Linked DNA regions of Homo sapiens: all the other regions are linked to region 3. Evidence: promoter capture Hi-C in 16 types of primary human blood cells and fetal thymus (Javierre and others, 2016). All regions are on one chromosome and are shown on one strand. Each heading gives the region's core, a stretch centred on a gene start or on the middle of the fragment in contact. The rest is flanking DNA. Distances are from core to core; before and after follow the strand shown.

Region 1 (4,540 bases), core at 955-3,454, 1.4 Mb before region 3:
TAACCCAGTGGTCCATTGATAGTTCAGAGGAATTAATGACCTTGGATAAGAAAAAAAAAATCTTGATTTCAAATGGAATTTAGCATTTTCTTCAATTACAAAACTAGCAGACAAACCTCAGAAGCATTTGCAGTACTTGTGACTGTTACTAATGGAAATAACAGTTATTTTCATTATTTCATTATAGTTGTTTTCAGTATCATGAAAGAACATTTGCACTCCTCTTTATTTAAAAGAATGTTGCTAGATCTTGTTATTTAATATGTTAAATAATGTTGCACACATTACATTACCACATTACTATAGCAAAAAATTATGTTTTAGATATTTTAACAATTACATTTCAATTGTTGACCTTTAATTTTAAAGCTAAGGCAAAATTAATGTAAGTAGAGAGTTTATTTGGGCCAAGTTTGAGTACTGCAACCCAGGAGTATAGATTCAAGTTTCCCTAAATATACACTCTGATTAGCAGCAGTTACACATAGATTTTTAAGGGGAAGGAAGAGGCAGTTCCTAAATTCCTTGCGTTAAAATAACATAAGCTGTGGATTGGTTATACTTTGTTCTTTGTATCATAAATTCCAGGAATATGAAGATAATGGGTGGGACAGCTACTCGGGAACAAAATGTCTTTAAACAACTGTCCCCAGGCATGGGTATTGGGGCGTGACTGAAGTCCCATACTCATGTCGCTCTGGGCCTGATAAATTTTGCATACCTCACAAAGCTCAGACTGCTCTCAGCTATTTTTTTTCCTTACAATGTAATTGATTTTCTTTGCAATCTATACATTTTATTCATTTATTTAAAATTTTTTTTTCTTCTTTCTTTTTTTCATGAACCGCACAGAGAAAATTTATGCATTTTATTGTAAGCATTTATAAACATTATTCTAAGAAGTTATCCACAGGCTCACCACTGCCAGAAGGGTCCACGACACAAAAAAGGTAATGCCTCATGGGCTTTCAAAGGACAACTTTTTACTTCTCTTTCTACCATCCAGTATAATCCAATATCCTTAGGACTGAAGCAGAGATACACACACACACAGGGAGAGAGGTGTTTGTGCTTTTTTTTTTTTTTTTTTTTTTTGGTGAGAGGCAGGTGGGAAATTGGCATCCACTTTTATTTACTGGTTCTTTATAAAACTGATATTTGTTGAAAATTGTCAAGTGTGACCATTTCTGCCTACATATTGTAGGGTGGCAATTAAATACCGAAAACCATTAGAAGCTTATTTCAGATGTACTCATTTATTGTAATGGTATCAATCTTGATGGGTAAATTTCATTTTACTTTTAAAATTGTATTTTAAATTATTCCTTCATGTTACGGTTGTTAGAGTAAAAACGGAAAAGAAAAAAACTACACTTCTTCCCTTTGAGTTTGGATGAAAAAGACGTGTCTAAGTCCTTAAGTCTGTAGTCTGGAAGTATTAATAGAGGCTGGGCATGGTGGCTCATTCCTGTAATTCTAGCACTTTGGGAGGCTGAGGCAGGAGGATGGCTTGAGTCCAGGAGTTTGAGACCAACCTGGGCAACACAGCAAGACTCGGTCTCCACACACACACACACAGACACACACACAACTTACACACACTTAGCTAGGTGTAACGGTACGTGCCTGCGGTCCCAGCTACTCAGGAGGCTGAGGCTGGAGGGTCCCTTGAGTCCGGGAGGTCCAGACTGCAGTGAGCTATGATTGTGCCAATGTACTCCAGCCTAGGCAACACAGCGAGACCCTGTTAAAAAAAAAAAAAAAAAGTATTACGAGGCACAGGATGTTTATTTATTCGCAACTACGTCCTGTTATAAAAAGTAGTGATTCCAACGTGAAATATTTACACGACGCATCCCGTTACTTTCCCTCCCTTGGCCACCGACCCCCATCCCCAAAAGCTGCTTTCTATGTAAGTTTCTCACTGGAATAGCGAGTGAGAAATGTGTTTGAAGACTAGGGAAACGAGAAAGGTATGCGGGCTGCTAGAGGGTTTCGGGTGGGTTGTTTGAAAAAGGAAGTGAAGGAATTCAAAGTTTCACATCATGAGCCTAATGTAAGGCGTGTCCGGGCCGTCCCGAAGGTATCTGGGGAAATAGGTTTGTGAGGACAAAGACCAGGGCCAGGCCCAGGGCGGAGCCTCCGCGGCCCCGACGCAGGGACTCGGCCTAGGCGGAGGACGGGGCGGAGCGCGGCCGGCACCATCGAGCCGGGAAGATGGCACCGCCCACGGAGCTGCTGGCCAGGCCGGAGCGAGGCAGCGCGCCCGGCTCCCGCGCCATGGGGCGGCTGGTGGCTGTGGGCTTGCTGGGGATCGCGCTGGCGCTCCTGGGCGAGAGGCTTCTGGCACTCAGGTAGGTGGGACTCCCGCGCGCCCCTCCTCGGCGGTCCCCAGGCTCGGGGTGGCCGCGTGGTGCGGGGAGGGCGCAGGCTGGGGGAGGGATTCCTGCGGGACCTGGCCCTGCGGCCGGGGGTGGAGAATTTTTGAATGCTGTCCCTCCCCCAGCTAGTTGAACCCCCATCACCCCGACTCTCCGCTTCTAGTGAAAAAACTAGCAAAGTTTGGAGTGAATCGCGACACTTTCTTGAAAGTTTATAAGCCCTTGCTGCTAACAAAGTTCTCTTCTGCTTAGGCTGACAAGAGAATGCTTTGCAATTACCCAAGGGCCAAACTAGTGGTTTAAATTGAAAACAAAATGACTACTCATGCATTGAAACCTTAACTATGAAGATTTATTTCAGGTCATTGGTGCTGTTTCTCCTTGTTGCCCAAACCAGACCCGTCTTTAATAAAGTTGTTCTCCACCCATTTCTGCATAGTTTGAGAAACTCTTCAGCTGTAGATCAAAGACACTTGAAATATTCAGCTACTGTTCTTACTTCCTATTTATTCACCAGGGAAGCCTGAAGCCAGAATGCCAGACAGCGCAGACACTATTCCATCTCGCATTTTAGTTTTAATGAAAATCTCTGGTAGGTAGACATCATCGTTTATAAATTACCAACTCAACGTTTGTTTTTTGTTTATTTTATTTTTTGTAGAGATGGGGTCTTGCTGTATTGCCCAGGCTGTTCCCTAACTCTTGCACTCAAGCAATCCTCCAGCCTAGGCCTCCCCACAGTGCTGGGATTACAGGTGTGAGCTGTTCTGCCCTGCCTCAACCAAAATTTTATAGGCCTCATGCAAAAGAGTTCCAGAAAGACTGAGCACCTGCTATGTGTAATGTTCTCTCTTAGGCTTCTATAGTAGAGTACGACCCTTATGGAGTTTGATACAGGGGAAGAGAGAATTAAAATACAGTAAATGTATAAATTAGGATGTTCTAAGGACAGACACAAATGAACCGCATAGGCTTAAAGAGGAAAGATTCCATCCCCTGAGGGTGGAGTTCTAGAGGGAGGAAGAGACATTCGACCTGACCTTGAAGGGTGGGTGCAACACATATGAGCATGAAGGGGCCCATGCCAAATGTATAGTGCAGCAGGAGCAAAGGGGCTAAGGTGGGAAGTTGGAAGACTAGCAAATGGGCCAATTTGAAGGGAGCATAAAGTCAGGAGATGAGAATAGTAGGGTGGTGGGAAGGATAGGTTTTGAGGCCATTAAATATAAGTTGAAAAATGGGGCCCCACTTTCATAGGCCCAATAGTGCTTCAAAAGGGAAATATTGGTGGGTTTTGCTTTTCAACAAGAACTTAATATAACTAGTTGTGTTTTATAGAGATAAGCCTGGAAGGGGGGATTGGAGGAGAGCAATGGTTCTCTGTACATTAGAATCTCCTGGAGGGCTGGTGTCTGAGTGGCACCACCAAAGATTCTGATTCAGCTGTTCTGGATCAGAATCTACAGCTCACACCTGTAATCCCAGCACTGTTGGAGGCCTAAGCCAGAAGATTGCTTGAGCCCAGGAGTTAGTGACAGGCCTGGGCAACATAGCAAGATCCCACCTCTACAAAATGAATAAATAAATAAATAAATAAATAAAAAACAAAATTTGAGTTGGTAATTTATAAACTATGGTGTCTACCTACCAGAGATTTTTCGTTATAATTAAAATGTGATATGGAATAATGTATTGTTTGGCAAGCTGGCTTCAGGGTTCCCAGGTAAATAGATAAATAAGGAAGTGCATAATGTAAGAACAGTGGCTGACAGTAGCAGTGGCATTTTTTATTTTTAAAAACATTCCTGATAATTCTAATGAGCAGTCAAGGTCGAGAACTACTAGAATAGAGAGCAGACATGGGGTAACTGGTTAAGGTATTGCAGTAGGTCAGAGAGGATAACAGGGACCCAAACTCTGGAACCCCAGGGATGAGGGAGAAGTCAAAGGTGCTACCAGAGTTTGTGCCACAGCTCCACTGTCCCATGGTTGTAGTTTCATCTACTGATAAAGCAGTGCAAAGAGGAAGCGTGTGGTGGCTGAGATGGGAGTGAGATTTGAGGAAAGAACGCTTATGGGTAGGAAATGGACATGTTGACCTTAATTTTCATGTTAGGTAATGCCCATTGTGCTCTACAGAACATTCATGAGTTGGATGA
Region 2 (4,014 bases), core at 1,502-4,001, 1.6 Mb after region 3:
TAAAGCTGTAGGAATGTGTACCTCAACCATAAAAACACTTTTGAGGAAATACTTCCAGTAACTGAACTGTAACATAGCACCTGATAGGCCAGGAGTTTTTTCCTGGTGGACCCTTTATCCAAGTGTCTGAGGGTGGCTGTTTCATCTGGATCACTACGGATGGGTCTGGTCTATGCAGGCCACAGTCCGCTACTTGCTAGTTCCTACCCATCAATAGCTGGTCCTTCCTCCCAGCCATCAGTCCAAAGTTATTTATCATATAAATAGTTTGCATTTATGGTTTGTTTGTCCACATGTATAATCAATATTCCCAAATTCTAAATGAGAATACTTGCTTATCATAGGCTTACTATGCATAACACAGCATATTCAAATGTATGCTGAATGAATATGAATCCAAAACATCTACTTTCATAGTGTAAAGGCAGAAATGCAAAGTAAAAACAATGTCTTAGTGAAAGATTCCAGTGGTAGGCAGTGCCTGGCACATAGTAGGTATTTATTAATATGTGCTGTGTTGTGTACACATATATAACACCAAACAGGACTAAGTCACTGATCTGAGTAGTCTCCTCATTTGCTGAGAGGATTCAAGGTTTCTGGTAGAGAAAAGGGGTCCACACGAGAACAGCACTAGTTTAGGCATCACCAGATCTGAGTTCATGGAGTTGTTCTGCCACTGCCATGCTCCAGGGAGGCCACTCAGCCATTCTGGGTCTTGGGTGGTCACACTCTTGGCCGTGATCCCCAGTGGCTCCCACTCAGGCTCCTCTTGCATGCCTGATCTGGGCTCTAGCTCAGTGGCTGGCAGTGACCTCTTGAACTTGCCACCATGGTGCTGCCTGCCAGTGGCACTGCTGTGATAGCCACTACAATACTGGGCATTTGCAACATTACTTGACTACTTTGTTGCATTATTGTCCTTATCATTTAATAAACATGGGTGGCAGACAACAATACGAAAGTACAGACAGTCACAATAACAGGTCCCACACACCCTTCCATGGAGACACACATGGAAACTGTTAGTACACTAAACCCGTAGCTCAACAAGTTGCTTCTGGCCTTAATCTGTAAACTGTGAAGGTAATGCACAAATACGAAGATGTGATAACTCCTACTATTCATTGAGTGCTTACTCTGCTAAGTGCTTAACACATATGATTTCATTTGACCCACTGAGGTAGTAACTATTTACAATTCCTATTTTACAGATGAGACATTAGAGAGGTTGGTCCTCGTCACATAGCCAGTCACTTGCTAAAGCTGTAGAGCCAGGAACTATGCTCTAGGCTTAAGCTCTGGCATGAGACTGCCTCACTCCATGACTTGTTGGCTATGTGATCTTGGACAAGTTAATTAACCTCGCTGTGCCTCAATGTTCTCATCTAGAAAATGGGGATAGTAGTATCCACCTCATAGAGTGAACTGAATGAAATAAAGCATGCAAAATGCTCAGCCACTGATACACAGCAACTGTTTGCTAAACTTTAGATATTTTATTAACAATGTATTAAATGTTGGAAAAATAAGAGAGATGTTTGCCTGTGTACAGACTTTTTTTGTTGTTGGTTTTTCCCAGCCCTGCTGAGGAATGCCAGTGTACCCCTGTTGGGAGGAACAGACTTCGACTATATAGATTGTGGGCTTAAAAAAAAGTATACTTAAGGGCATCATCACTTGAGTTTCTCAGTCCACCTGGGTCAAGTATAAAGTACTAACTCACACCACTGTCCCCTAAATGACAGTTCAGATCCCGAAACACCAAATAGCCTTCAATGGTTGCTGCCTGTGCCGTGCCAGGCCTGCCGAGCCTTGGGGGTCTATGTTCTAATTCCTTTCCTAAGACTTCTGGTTTAAACACAACAATCTGTCACTTCTCTCACTGAGGTATCAGATGTTCATGGACTTTGGCCCTGGGAAACCTGACCTCCTCATTCTTTTATCAAAACATCTTGGAATTCCTCTCACTATGAATTTCTAGTAGGTGTTAATCCTCACTACTGCCCTTACTCAGCTCAACTCCACTTAAAGGCATTTTAGAATCTCTGGGCCTACTCTACCCATTTGACACCACAGTCGACAACCTCTACTAGTCCAAATCCTGTCTCTGTCCTTCTCATTCTTCAATGCCATCGCACTAACGGCTCAGTCTTCCATGGCTCCACACTATACAATCAGCATTTTAAGAATAATTCCTACAATCTACACTAAAAAAAAATACTTAAGATCCTCACATCATGTGTCAGTAGGCACTTTCTCCTCCCACTTCAGCTCTAGATGAGATGTTTTAATAACAGCCACTTATGGGGGAAAACAGCTAAGAAGGGAACAAAAAGTATAATCACACCTTATACAAATAAAGAGTAGCAGAGACCTTTAGACTAATCCAACATTTTAGTGGCACATTACCCACTAGGCCCAACTCTTCCTTCAGTAACTCTACAAAAGCTTACCTTGTAGAAGATTGATTCTGCAGTGATTATAGTGGAAACTGACTCAGGAGCTTTGATGGGCTATGAAAATACAAAAAACATTAGCACATTCATAGTATGTATGTGTCTACAGGCATTTTCCCAGCCCTATGAGAGTTCTGCAATTTGAGAAGTACTAAAATGTATTGTTTGGTGACAAGAACTGCAATAAAAAGATAAATGATTTTCTGAATGTTGTGGCAAAGCAGTCTATTTCCACTGCAATTTCTGCTACTATTAGCTTAAAAATTGCTGAGACAAAGGACAACCTTCTGATTATGCTGCTGAGATCTAATGCAAAGTCCTCTCAGAGCTTCACTACACATAAACATTCCAGTTATAAAAATGTACCTGCTCTAATAGCCTGAGCATGACAGAATGCAAGTAACAGAAAATGTACAGATGAATACAAAGTGAAAAAGTGTCTCCTCAAAGACATTTCCCAACTCAACTATGGAACTAGCCATAATACTCAACATAGGTTTTCTAGCAAGCTGAAACTAAGGCTTTAGAAACTTTGAGAGTTCTTAGTAATTTGCTACCATCCAACCATTTTTGAGATCTCTACTAAAGCTTCAATACATACTTTTATGCCACAACATAGAAAGTAGGCCTCCCCAGATGTGTCTTGCTTAGTACCATTGAAGAAAGGTTGCAGAGAAACGATAATGAAATAATTGCTGAGAACACGGTATACCATACTTAAAAGGAAAAAAATGTGCATATGTGATACAAATATCAATAACATGTTTTGTGTAATCAACAAATGCCTCACTTAACTATAAAAATCTTAAATAAATTAGAAGCAACTAGTCTGAATAAGAAAATACTTTGGGGAAGGGAACATCACACACTGGGGCCTGTCGGAGATGGGGGCCAAGGGGAGGGAGAGCATTAGGACAAATATCTAATGCATGCGGGGCTTAAAACCTAGATGATGGGTTGATAGGTGCAGCAAACCACCATGGCACGTATACCTATGTAACAAACCTGCACATTCTGCACATGTATCCCAGAACTTAAAGTAAAATTAAAAAAAATTCATTAAATTAAATTAAAAAAAAAAAAAGAAAATAGTCTGCCATCTGCATAAGTCTACTGCAGGGTCCCTTTGTGTTTTAGAAATAAATATGGCCAACTTCAGAAACGTCTTTACGGGTAAGTGAAACATTCCTGTTCTGAAAGAAAAGAATATCATACTGAGACTTAAAAAAATAGTCCATAATGCACTGTCCACTGTGTTTGAACATTATCCCTTGTTTATAAAAACTGAGAATTTAATTGCAATAAAAATATGCTTTCAACTACTTCCAGCACAGGTCTTTCAACAATCTCTTTTCTTAGAGCAGAAGAGGAGATAAGGCTTAGCAAAATTTTTGACTCATATTCATCAAATACATCATCATCATAAGTCAGTAAGATACATTTTCTGGGGCTTTAATAACAAATAAATATGCAAATGATGAGTTCTAGTGTTAATATTTACTTAGATTTTTAAAGAATGAAAAAAAAAAGTTTTCTTAGTGTACCTGGCCATATC
Region 3 (4,155 bases), core at 1,474-3,973:
TTTTGCCCTGAGCCCCACAAATTATGTGTCTGGCTCTGCTGAGGACTTTAAGGTTGGAATTGTGTGCCTAATTTTTACAAACTATGGCTGAAAAGCTTGCCATCAGTGCTAGTAATATTCCCAAATTATGGAAAAGACAGATCAAATTGGTGACTTTTTGCAAACTCCTTGAAAATATTCTTCGCATTCTTAAAACTTTTAAGTAAAACTCATTCTTTCTCAAACATGAATAACCAAAATAATTTTTAAACACTCTATTTCTTCTTTAATGGCTTTGCTTTATTTTATCACAAGTATTACAACATTATTTTCCTTCTATTGGTCTTGAAAATACGCGGTATTTCTGCTGTCCTATGGGTTACACAGACTTTGATTGGCCAGCATAGTAACTCTAACAGCCATGTGTTTTCTGGGCTGAGTTGGGAACCTGACCATCATTTCAGTCTTCAGGGAAAATGTGCTTTAAATACCAAACAACAAACTTAGAAACAAACTTTGTCCCATAGCTTGTTTGTAAATCAAGAGCTTTTTGTTTCTAGTTTACATTTTGTGACAGTTCAAATATGATACCCGAGATACTGAATTTGCTTCATGATTGAAAAATGTGTTAATGTTTATTGAACCAGTTTTGAGAGCTTGGTATGCTCTTTTCCCTTGGATTGGACTTGAAATTTGGTCAGGAAGAGGTAGGACAAATGGGCAGGCAGGAAGCAGACAGATAGGAGAAAGAAAAGTTCCAATTTTGCACCTCGATTCAGACATTTCCTGCTTTTATTCTTGCTTTTGTAATTACTAGAAGGAATACTTAATATTATTTTAAGTAATTTTTAGTCCTTTATCTCCTAGAGACCTACAAACATTAGATGTTTTCTGTGAGACTATCCTGTGAGAATAGAGAAGAGGTTCTAAATGCTATTCATCTCTGTGAAATTTATTTGCTTTCAATCAGTAAGAAAAGTTAAGGATTTTAATTTAAAAAGGAAAAAGCACAACGAGAAAAGTGAAAATGATTCCCTCTGATCGCTAATGTCAACTATGGTCACATTTAATAATTCTTTTTCTGCACATTGAGTTCATTTTTCCTGCCTCTTCCTTTGAGTGCAAATTTTTTTCAGATGACATTATCCTAATTTGATACTAGCAACGTTAGCTAAAAACAATAATTGGATTTTTTAGGTAACAACTTCAATATGAACTAGCTTTGCCTTACTTCAGTTATATTCTTAGTACATTATATATGTTTTCCTTTTAACTACATTTCATTCTTATGTCTTCCTACCATGTAAAGGAAGCAGTATATTTTATGTAATCTAAATGATTAGTTCTAGTAAATATTACCATATTTTCAAAAATAACGATTTCTACATTTCCATCAGCAAGCCTTCTGTAAGGCAATTTTTAAACGTTTTAATTATAGAACATGCATTTTTTTAACCAAAGGACTGTCACAGATTTTAAGTTATAAAGGGATACCTAGCTATCATTTCTTTTATTGAATCTCCATCTTTTATTTGTAATAATTGTCCCTGATATTATGCTTATTTAATTTCATTGCTTTTAGAAAATGGCGGTTTTATTTTAATGATTTTTTTCTATCAAAACACTATTGGATAAAGCCTCCTTCCCAGGTTAATAACTCTTATTAAAAATTGTTTTCATGTGTTTTTTACAAAAGCAACTTAACGCAGAGACTTATGCCAGTATTATAGTCAATGTTAATAATGTCCTGGGAAACTATGAGGAAACGCTAAATGATCAAAGATCACATATTCGGAAATCTCTAGTGTGGAGACGATTCCACTGCCATATATACAGCAGCAACAACAAAACCGCAGACACCCAGTGAATTTTGATCACCTACTGTGTATCAGGTTTTTTTGTTTTCCCTTCAAAAACCACGATTTCATCGTATTCTCACGATAAATCCTCTGAGATAAAATGAAATTCTAGGATTAACCTCGATACCAGTAACACCTCCAACTCGCCAACAAGTTTTAAACCCCTAATTGGCACACTGCCTTGTGTAAGCAGTATTTCAATAAGCTTTGTGTAAGTTAAAAAAAAAAAAGTGGGAGAGCGTTTAGGGGTCCTTTGGTCCCCATAACAACTAAAAGTCTTGGTTCTTTCTAGAAGTACAACAGATGCAGTAACAGGGAACTAACTATTCAGTGCCTCTGACCAGATCCCGCAGCCTTTCCTAGTCTGCTCTCATCTGAGCAGGAGTCCTACTCAAAGGAACCTGGTTTTCTTTCCTTTACTGGATACTACAAGGCACAAATCGGTTACTTCTGTGGGTGTCGGATTACTTGTTTGTAAACTGAGAAACCTGGACAAAGTTTTCTCTAACTTTCCCTGAATCGTCTCTGGAGGTGAGAGGGAGTTCGAGGCTAAATCAGGAAAGATACCCCAACCATCCTCTTGTGGGTGGGGAGGAGCAGATCTGCTGGGTTAAACTTGGTGGTCAACAAACTGAAAGCAGCGACCCGCGGGCTGCGAGCGGAACAGCGGGAACGTTGGATCAGAGACCCAGAATCAGAGCCGCAGTCGAAGCCGCCCCCTTTTCCGGACGCCCCGTCCGCTCCTGGAACCGGGTTCACATCACGCCCTCAGCAACACGTTATGCGTTGGTGAACTACATTTCCCAGAATGCCTTTCAACCTTCTTCCCAGGGCTCCAATGAGCGCCGTGGTGACGCCATCATCCGGCGCGGTGTTTAGACTCCACTGATGTCGTGGCGCTTTAGGGGAAGAAGTTGGTGTTTCGCTGGGCCCTGGTACTGAAGACGCGGTCCGGGTCGCCCCTAGCTGTTTCCTACTCACCCAAAGCCCCGCACCCGCCTTTTCTCTCTCTCCTCTGGCAGGATGAGGCGTGCAGGCCTGGGTAAGAAGAGGGCTGAGGTTCGAAGTTCGGGGCCCTAGAACCGGGAGCGCTGGGGCGCGGGAGGAAATCGAACCTGTCTTATGTTCCTGGCATTTGGTCCAAAAAACAGGATGTCTAGAGGGGATCTTTGGGGTCCATGTCGAGTGGAAACACACCATTTGTCCCAGATCTTTGGAATTTCCTTAAGTTTGAGTCAGATTCAAGTTTGGATGGTAGGCTAGAGAAAGTAGTGGACTAGGGGTGGGTGTGTACAGGTGGCATCTCAGTGGTCGAGTGTTTTAGTGTTATTGACTGAGCGTGGTTATGGACGCTGCTATGTTTTCCAAAGCCCGACTCCGGTTTCTGTTTCCCTACTGGCCCTGGATCTTAGTTTCTTCAGAAGCGGAATTTGAAGAGTGGGTGGTTGCACCCAAAGCACGCTAGTAATGGTCGTTAATCTGGTAACAGTGAGTTACAAAGGTAAATGTATGTGTCATTATTGTTAAAGGTCCTGGAACTGGAACTTCTGGGTCAAAGGCGATTTCTTAATCTGAACCTTGTGCCACGGTTAAGGCAGTAGAACGTGGTTAAGGTTTGGCGACTTAACATTTGATCTTTACCTTTGGGGTTAGGAAACTGGCTCATCAGCAAGAATAAGTTAGACACAAGGAATTTTAATGGACCCTTATAGTAACGCACAGCTACTAGAACGGCATTTTCTGGTTCTGAAGCTTTCTCTTAGGACACGATTTTTTTTTTAAAGAAGACCCCGCTAAATTAGAGTGCAGTATACTTCAGAAAATAAATGAAACATTTGAAAAAAGATATTACCTTTCTCAGTCATTATAAGATTGAAAAAAGAAAAAAAAAATCCCCAAAGTGTCAGATATTTAAAGTCAGTGAAAGTTGCCAATAACCGTAGACTTGTTTATTGATCAATAAATTGTAGTATGAGAAAGTTTTTTGTTTTTTTAATGAAGTTTTTATGAATACTTAGATCATAGAAAATGGGGCCAGGTAAATTGAAGAGAAAAAAAAAAGAAATAATTTTGAGCAAGTTTAGCTTTATATGTCTAAATGTTTTTCTTGTTCATCATCCTTAATACCAAAAAAGATTTATTGTGTGCTTGAGTAAGCTCTAGGTATACAGTTGTTTGTTGCCCTGTTTGTGATCCCCAAAGCTTCCAGTCTAGGTGGGGAGTAGGAATATGTGCAAAGATAAATTGTAGTACAAAGTGTCGCTATACATCCAAATACCAGATAAGTTCTACATATAAGGGATGGTCTCAGAGATTT
Region 4 (4,245 bases), core at 1,488-3,987, 1.5 Mb before region 3:
AGTTAAACATTAGCTATAATATCAAGTTTCACTCTGATATTTTAAATATTATTTTGATATGCATAGTCACATATAATTTTCAGAAAAATACATCTATACAGTCCATACTGTCCCATAAGCTGCTTTTTACAACCTTCCCATGTGAATGGACATTCCTTTAAACATCATTTTAAATATCTGCATGGTATGGCGGTAACAACATGAAATTTTCTATTAGATATGTAAGCATTTTTCAGTTTTTCAGTAATATAAATGACTCTCTGAGGGCAAATAGGAATCAAGCAATTTTTTGAGACTCTAAATACATTTAAAAATTAAAAGTGCCTATCTATATATTTTCAATTGTGGTACATTTTAAATGTTTTTCTTAACCAATCAAAACTTCTAAGATGAAAATATAAGGTAAAATAAGTAAAATATACTCTAACTGCATTATTCTGAAAACTCTTACAGAATTAGGAGAAAGTCTCTAATTTCTAGTGTACTGCAGGTCATGTGACCAAGCACAATTCTAAGTTACATGATCAGTGTCTTTCTTTTTCTTTCTCCCCAGTTATCTCTTTGACTTTAGGTATAACCTAGTTCAGAGATAACATCTAAAGTCTGAATTTGAGGCCCTAAGTAAATGACAGCCCTGGGTAAAATGGTCTCCTGCCTAGAATTGGTCCCTAATCCTAGAGGCGAATTTTCTAAGTTACAAGAAAGTTTTAAGCTTTTGATATGTGTTATCAATTTGCCCCCCCCCCGCAGGCTGGTACCTATTTACATTCTATTAAGCGTGTGTAAGAGCACTTCCCTATGTGTTTGTCATATATGTATTATCTTTTGTATGCTTATTAACGTAACAAACAACAACAAAATAGCTAATTGTCATTTTAATTGACATGTTACTGATTACCAATGAAGGCTATCATTATGTCATATATTTATTTGCTGTTTATATGATTTTTCTTTTTTTTCCCTTAAATATTCCTGTTCTTGGTCGTTTTGTTCTTTTTCTTTTTTTACCTCTTTCTCTCTCTTTTTTTTTTAGTTGTTAGCCTCATTACTTTAATTGAAAAACTTCTGCGTATAGTAAGCCCTTTGTCATATAGTCTCAAATATTTTCCCCAGTTTTATGATTGCCTTTTAATTTTATGGTGTTTGCCCTTCTGAAGTTGAACATTTTTGCTTTCTCTAATTTATCTCTATTTTCTTTGTGAATTCGGCCTTTGATGACATGGCTTGAAAGAGTAAGTGGATCTTTAATGGACTTCTATTCTCTCTCCTTGATTCTTATAAGCCTAATTCATTAGTGTCAGCCTACAAGCATTGCCCAAGCTTCCCCCTACCTCTTTCTTCCTTCTCATCTCTAGGTAGTCTCCCTCTGTTGACAAGAACAAAAGAGATGGGGAATAACTGTACCGGCTGGGAAAGGTGACACCTCTAGGGAGTGAAAGGTTGGCCACTCTGTCAGTTTGTGGTTGATGAAGTCACATGAAAAGGCCACAATGTAAAAAGTTAACAAAGTTTCAGTTACACCGGATGATGAATAAGTTCTGAAGATCTAATGTATAGCAGGATGACTATAGTTAGTAACACTGCATTGTTTACTGGAAATTTGTTGAAAGTAGATCTTAAGTGTTCTTATTTATGATTAAGATGAAAAGATGGAATGCGGTGAGGTGGTAAGAGCAGCGTCTGTCCAGCAGGCCTATCTATTTCGGATTAAAATGAAGGCCAGTGACATCTTGCCTTACCATGTTCCACTTCATTGACCAGGGAATTTCCTAACATGTGGTTGACTTGTGTCACTGTCAGATAAAGTAGCAGGGAACAGTCTTTTAAAAGGCATGGCCCCCTTTACATTGCCCCCATGCTACATTCTGCTAAGAAACATTTGAATTTTTATGGCTTTCCTGCAGTAACAAATTTTCCTCCTACTGTCAGGATTTGCTTCATGCAGAGTAAAGTGGGCAGCTTTCATTTTCATTTCATTATTACGAAAAGTGAGACAAAAAATGTTTTAATTAGAAAGTTAATGATTAAATTAATATATAATTTCTAAAATTCCTTAAACTCTTAAAAATAAAAAGCTTGCATGTTTAAACTAATTAAATTTAAAAATCAATAAAGATAAAAACTAAATCTAAACATAAATGAATGAGTAAATGTGAAGAGTGGTGATGGCTACACATAGAAAATGTGAGTAAGCTCCAAATTATGCCTAACCTTGTCCCTGTAGCTTCCTTCCTAAGTGGGAGGCTGCAAAAGCGAAGAAGAGCACAATTGCTGGAGGGAGGTCACAGGTCACTATTATCTACAGTTGGAGATCAGAGGAAAACCTTGTGTGCCAAAGTAAGTGATTCATAGAAATAACAGTTGAAGATGTATGAGACAGGATAACTGAAAGGTTCCAGTCTTTCAGAAGTTGAGATGAGATGAAATCCAGAGAATATGGGATACAGCCTCATTTTTAACAAGTGAACCAAAGAAGAAGGAGAATATGCTGGGCTGAATTTTTTCTTCCCCTTCATTTCCGCAGGTTGAAAAGATCATGGCTTTTTTTTTTTTTTTTTTTTTTTTTTTTGAGACAGATCTTGCTCTGTCACACAGGCTGGTGTGCAGTGGTCCAATAATAGCTCACAGCAGCCAGCCTCAAACTCGTGAGCTCAAGCAATTCTCCTGCCTCAGCCTTTCGAGTAGCTAGGAATACAGATGCACCACCATGCCTGGTTAATTTATTTTTCCTTTAGTAAAGATGTGGTCTCACTATGTTGCCCAGTCTGATCTCAAACTCCTGGCCTCAAAAGGTCCTCCTGCCTCAGCCTCCCCAAAGTTCTGGGATTACAAGCATAAGCCACGGCTCCTAGCCACATGGCATCTTTTATAAGTCCAGTAATCCTACTACATTTCTCTAGTAAGTTTCTTCTCCCATTTTTTTTCTCCCGAACCTCCCATTCCTTCTCCATTCTTATGAAAATGTCTATGCTTTCTGCTCTCCTCTCATTTTTTGGCTGGTGACTTTGACACATTGTTGAGGGGAAAAACCATCCGAACTCCCTCATCGTAGCACCATCAAATCTATAAATATTCTGGCATTTAAAACCATCTTTTACTTTGTCCCGCTTCTTAAAAATGAGGATGCTCCCAGCTACTTGGGAGGCTGAGGCAGGAGAATGGCGTGAACCCGGGAGGCAGAGCTTGCAGTGAGCCGAGATCGCACCACTGCACTCCAGCCCAGGCGACAAAGCGAGACTCCGTCTCAAAAAAAAAAAAAAAAAAAAAAAAAAGAGGATGTATCCCGTAGTCTCTGGATTTAATCTCATCTCAACTTCTGAAGGACTTTCAGTTATCCTGTCTCGTGCATCTTCAGCTGTTTTCTTTCTATGAATCATTTCCTTTAGCACACAAGCTTTTTCTTTGATCTCCAACTGTAGGTAAGTCTTGCCTGTGACCTCCCTCCAGCCCCCTCCAGCAATCATGCTCTTCTTATGTTCACTTCTGCAGCCTCACTTCTTTTTACCAATTGTTTACCTGTGGCATCTCTGGTTTCTTACCACCCATTTGCACTTTATACCATTCAAATCTGGCTTTTAACACTGTTTCACCAAAACTATTTTTGTCAGTGATAACTCTGTCACCTAATCTAATGAACATCTAATTAACCCTGGGTAGCTATCACTATAGCTGGCCACTCTCTGCTTCTGGAACCTACTACCTCTTTCTTTGTCCTTGTGTTGCCAAAATACTCTTGGTTTTCTCCAATTTTACTTATCAGTATATCTTACTCTCCTTTACTGGTTTCTCCTCATCCTTCTAACATTGAAATGTTAGAATTCATTGGGGCTTTTTCATAGATTCACTTTTCTCTATATATACTCTTTATCCAGGCGATTCCATTGATTTCCTTGACTTCAAATACAATCTATAGGCCAACAATTCTGAAATTATACCTTTAGTCCAGGGCTCTGTTCTGAAATCTATACTTTTATATAAAGTGCATCCTTGACATTTTCACTGAAGTTTCAAAGAGATATGAAAACTCTCATACTTAAAACTGATCTAGGAGGACTCACTCTATCTGATTTCAAGACTTGATACAAACCTGTGGCAATCAAGTCAGTGGAGCATTAGGGAAAAAAATAAAAAGATATATAGGTCAATGGAATAGGCTGGAGTCCAGAAATAAACCCATACATATATTGCCAATTGATTTTTGACAAAAATACTAAGGCAGTTTGATGGTGAAAGAATATTCTTTTC
Region 5 (4,080 bases), core at 136-2,635, 1.5 Mb before region 3:
TGTTCCGTTTCAGCGACTCTCTTTACAGGTGGTGGATGTCAGAATGGCTGGATTGACATAAGCAGTAACCAAGCACTGGCCCACCTGAATTTTGACAGACTATTCATTTCACGTCATCTTTGACTGTGAAAGACAAGGTTTTTTCAGATCAAACATCCCTGCCCCACAGAGGGGGCATTAGCTCTGTGTTCCAGGTCTCCTAGCAACTGACCTGCATTTACACGCCGTCCAGCACAGTTTAAACATCAACACCAGCTTGTATTTCCATCCCTCACCCAGTTACACACTTCACAACATCAACTCGAGGGAATAATTTACCATAATTTTGTCTCTTCAGAACATTTACCTCACAATTGTACTCCAGGCAGCATTTGCATCCTCTTTTTACTTTTGACAAATTTATGATGCAGAGGTGCAGTAAGAAAAAAAAATTATCCTTCCCTTTTAAGGGGTAAAGAAATTGGACTGTCCTCTGTAACGTTCTTTTTACACCCACAGTTGTCAGAAGCCAATAAGTTGTTTACCAATTGCAAAGATTCATCAGTTTTATTTTATACTATGGAAGTATCTAATTCATGAAGGAGCAATCCTCAACACAACACCAAAACTATGGGATATTGCAGGAAAAAAAAAATTGCACAACAAATTTGCAGACAAAGCTGCAGTTAGGAATGGGAAAGAGGAGTGGAGAGAAAGGGGGCACATATTTTCAGAAAACCATAGAAAAATAGTATACCTAAAGAGAAACAACACTCTTGCTTTTTAAAAGAACTTAATTTTGCTTGTAGAATCACAGAATTATAGCAAAAAAAAAAAAAAAGGTTCTTGTTAAGGGTATCAAATCTTCTCATTTAAGAAAAAAAGTACTGAGGCCATCTCACTTACATGTTTGCACAAAATTGCATAATTAATTAGTCGCAAAGCGAAGTCTCCAACCTAATGTCAAGCTTCATACTTTAGTTTTTGAACTACACAACGCTGCCTTTCTGTAGTTTTCTATAGTTTTGCATCTCCTCTCCCTAAACTGATAGTGTAAAGAAAAAATAAGCAGCCACACTAGTGTATATAAGCAAAGCATTCCACTCTTTTTACAGTAGATAAATTTGTGAAAACTTGACAAATTTATAAAATGAGCAATGTTCAATTATTATTTTATATATTTTTTGATGTGATAACTATATACTTGAGAAATTCAAAAGGTGACGTAGAGTTGACCCTTTGGCAAATATTTTAAGGATGCCATTTCAGAAAGGTATTAACAAACACAGCTTCAAATAACGAAGCACATTTTAAAGCCACAAACGTTTTTCTAGAGAGAGAATCAAAATTAAAACCGTGCTGCTAGTTGTCTTTTAGGGACTGTGTTAACACGTCAGGCCACATGATGGCAGTGTTCCTCGATAAATGAACCCGGAAGAACAGCTGCAGTATCCTGGGGAAAAAAAAAAAATCCAAGCCAATGCGGATAAAACGTGATCCAGGTTAAACCACAAATATGGATTTTAAAAATTTTGTTTTAATCCACGTAAACCATATCTTTCCTGATCATATTTTCCTACAATGAATTTCTCTACTGAGAATTTGCTATTGGTTTATGATTTCATAAAATAAATTTCAATATGTATCTAACAAATACATAAATTAAACATTGTTTGGAGGAGGAGTGGGTTGTCCCTTTATTGTTTGTTTTTGCTACAATGGTATTAAGAAGAACATTCAAAATAATAAGCTAAAAATGTTTCATACCATGTGTCTCCAGATTCTTTACAGACCGTTGTCTTATGAGTCTCTGTCTTTGGGTGTGGGAAAGCAAGACAAGCTTGCTTCTCATGCTCACAATTTTTCTCCTAGGCTGAAAATATTCCCTATAAGACCAGAGTGTGATTTCCTGAGTCCTTTCTAAAAAGGCGTGAAGCCACAGATGGAGGTTAAAGCAGCAGCTACTGTCAGTCAAGGCCCCAGGCAAGACTGTGAAATCAAAGATATTGTTCCCGTTTCCCAGCCCTGGTCTTTTCTAGTGTCTGTAGCTGCCCCTTGATTGCTCCAGGGGGTAAAAGAGCTAGGCTTGTCCTCTAGATCTTCCTTCCATTTCTTGATTTCTCATAGGTGAATTTTGTATTTTAAACATGGGCTGTGAGCTTTCTATAAATTTTTTTTTAAATATAAAAAAGAATGTCAGTCACCTGCAAGAGAATATTTTGGGACAAGCATGCAATACGCACCTACCTCACACAGCTAACAGCCTTGGCTGAAAGCTATCCGATGACTCTGGGCTGGGCTGGAAGCCTTGCCGCTGCATACCACAATTTGAACACTATTGACTGAGTTATTATTAGGTGTCTGACACTGTGATAGGTGTAGTAGGGACCGACAGATGTGTAGGATTCAGCCCCAATCTCAAGAACTTATAGACGAATGAAATTAGACCATACTGGTTATACAATAAGGCAGACCAGAATCTACTGTGCCAGAAATACGAAACACAGGGAGCTGGCATTATAAAAAGGAAAGATCACACCATTCGGTTTGAGGAATCAAGAAAGATTTCACAGAGGAAATGGTATTTGAAATAGGATCTTGGGATCTTGATATATAGAGACCGAAAAGTTCAGGTGATTTGATTTCTTTGTTTACACTGTGATGCCATTTAGGAAGGCACCCCATAAATCTTAACTAAGTAAAGATTCTTCACAACCTTGCCAGCTCATGGCAAGGATTAGAGATGGGGGAGAGAATGGCCATCTAATTTTACTAAAAGATAAAGAATATGAGCAGGAAAAATAGAAGATGACACTGGAATACATGATTTGGTTTTATAAAGACAGAAGACCTTGAATGCAAGTAGAGCAATTTAGCTATTAAATAAATTCAAGGCCGGGCACGGTGGCTCATGCCTGTAATCTCAGCACTTTGGGAAGCTGAGGTGGGTGGATCACCTGAGGTCAGGAGTTTGAGACCAGCCTGGCCAACATGGTGAAACCCCATCTCTACTAAAAATACAAAACTTAGCCAGGTGTGGTGGCACGCACCTGTAGTCCCAGCTACTCGGGAGGCTGAGGCAGGAGAATTGCTTGAACCTGGGAAGTGGAGGTTGCAGTGAGCCAAGATTGAGCCACTGCACTCCAGCCTGGGTGACAAAGCCAGTCTCCATCTCAAAAAATAATTAATTAATTAAATTCAACCTGCAATGGGGAGTCACTGACCACTGCCAATATTCTAGGTTGTGATTTTACTTCTAAATTCTACATCCAGGTGGGCGTGGGGAGGGACTATGTAAGGAAAGATGGTCATTGGCTATAGTGTAGTGAGTGTATAGTATATGACCCTACCTATTCTATTGACAGCCTGGATTATGACAGCACTTCTCAAATTTTTCGGTACTTCAGAGTCCTCTGGTGGGCTTGTTACAACACAGACTGCTGGGTCACACCTGACAGAGTATGAGTGAGATCTGAGTTCTTGTTAAATGCCAGTGTTGCTGGTCTAGGCACTATACATAAAAAACAGCTTGTCTATAGGCTCTACAGAACATTTGCCAGGGTATAGAAAGCCACCTCATCCTAAGGATCATATTGCAAAAGTATCTCCTGAATCCCTCCTCCTTAATTACTGTTTCTAAATCTCAATGATCAGTAACATCAGATAATTTTTACCTTAACTACATGCCTATTTGGGGTAAAACCATTTTACTGTTGAAAACATGGTATGCATAATGATATAAAAACTAATTTTTAGATGAGGCATGGTGGCTCATGCCATAATTCCAGCACTTTGGAAAGCTGAGGCAGGACTGCTTGAGCCCCAAGAGTTCATGACCAGCCTAGACAACATGGTGACACCCATCTCTAAAAAAAATTTTTTTTTAAATTAGCCTGGCATGGTGGCATGTGCCCGTAGTTTCAGCTACTCACGAGGCTGAGGTAGAAGGATTGCTTGAGCCCAGGAGGTTAAGGCTGCAGTGAGCCGTGATTGCACCACTGCACTCCAGCCTGGATGACAGAATGAGACCCTGTCTCAAAAAGAAAAACAAAAACTAAGTTTTAAAATAGGATTTTAAACTGCACATTCTGCAATCATAAC

The links. Contacts are between HindIII fragments. The CHiCAGO score rates a contact against its expected background, and 5 or more counts as called.
Region 1: a contact is called between the fragment with the promoter of PON2 here and the fragment with the promoter of BET1 in region 3, in 3 of 17 cell types (naive CD8 T cells, erythroblasts and total CD8 T cells). The highest score is 7.2, in naive CD8 T cells.
Region 2: a fragment that was not itself captured here is called in contact with the fragment with the promoter of BET1 in region 3 in 1 of 17 cell types (non-activated CD4 T cells); the score reaches 6.9 in non-activated CD4 T cells.
Region 4: a fragment that was not itself captured here is called in contact with the fragment with the promoter of BET1 in region 3 in 1 of 17 cell types (fetal thymus); the score reaches 7.1 in fetal thymus.
Region 5: a contact is called between a fragment that was not itself captured here and the fragment with the promoter of BET1 in region 3, in 1 of 17 cell types (fetal thymus). The highest score is 5.8, in fetal thymus.

What each region holds. Positions count from the first base shown.
Region 1 is chr7:95,432,692-95,437,231 of GRCh38, reverse strand. PON2 (paraoxonase 2) reads left to right here and starts at 2,204. Exons shown (of 9, transcript NM_000305.3): 1 at 2,204-2,354. The coding sequence starts at 2,281. RefSeq lists an enhancer at 1,847-2,417 and a silencer at 2,092-2,521. The HindIII fragment of the contact is 3,363 bases long and covers 1,239-4,540 here.
Region 2 is chr7:92,449,203-92,453,216 of GRCh38, reverse strand. GATAD1 (GATA zinc finger domain containing 1) reads right to left here. Exons shown (of 5, transcript NM_021167.5): 3 at 2,457-2,516. Among named protein-coding and RNA genes, the nearest start is that of GATAD1, 3.7 kb to the right of the region's middle. The HindIII fragment of the contact is 596 bases long and covers 2,454-3,049 here.
Region 3 is chr7:94,002,923-94,007,077 of GRCh38, reverse strand. It overlaps BET1 (Bet1 golgi vesicular membrane trafficking protein), which reads left to right and starts at 2,723. Exons shown (of 4, transcript NM_005868.6): 1 at 2,723-2,880. The coding sequence starts at 2,862. RefSeq lists enhancers at 2,157-2,786, 2,797-2,846, 2,301-2,906, 2,907-3,513. The HindIII fragment of the contact is 1,547 bases long and covers 2,046-3,592 here.
Region 4 is chr7:95,498,893-95,503,137 of GRCh38, reverse strand. All of the region lies in intron 2 of ASB4 (ankyrin repeat and SOCS box containing 4), which reads right to left. Among named protein-coding and RNA genes, the nearest start is that of ASB4, 15 kb to the right of the region's middle. RefSeq lists an enhancer at 1,739-1,788 and a silencer at 2,087-2,381. The HindIII fragment of the contact is 1,319 bases long and covers 2,078-3,396 here.
Region 5 is chr7:95,474,476-95,478,555 of GRCh38, reverse strand. It overlaps a transcript of ASB4 not described here. Among named protein-coding and RNA genes, the nearest start is that of ASB4, 9.4 kb to the left of the region's middle. The HindIII fragment of the contact is 872 bases long and covers 950-1,821 here.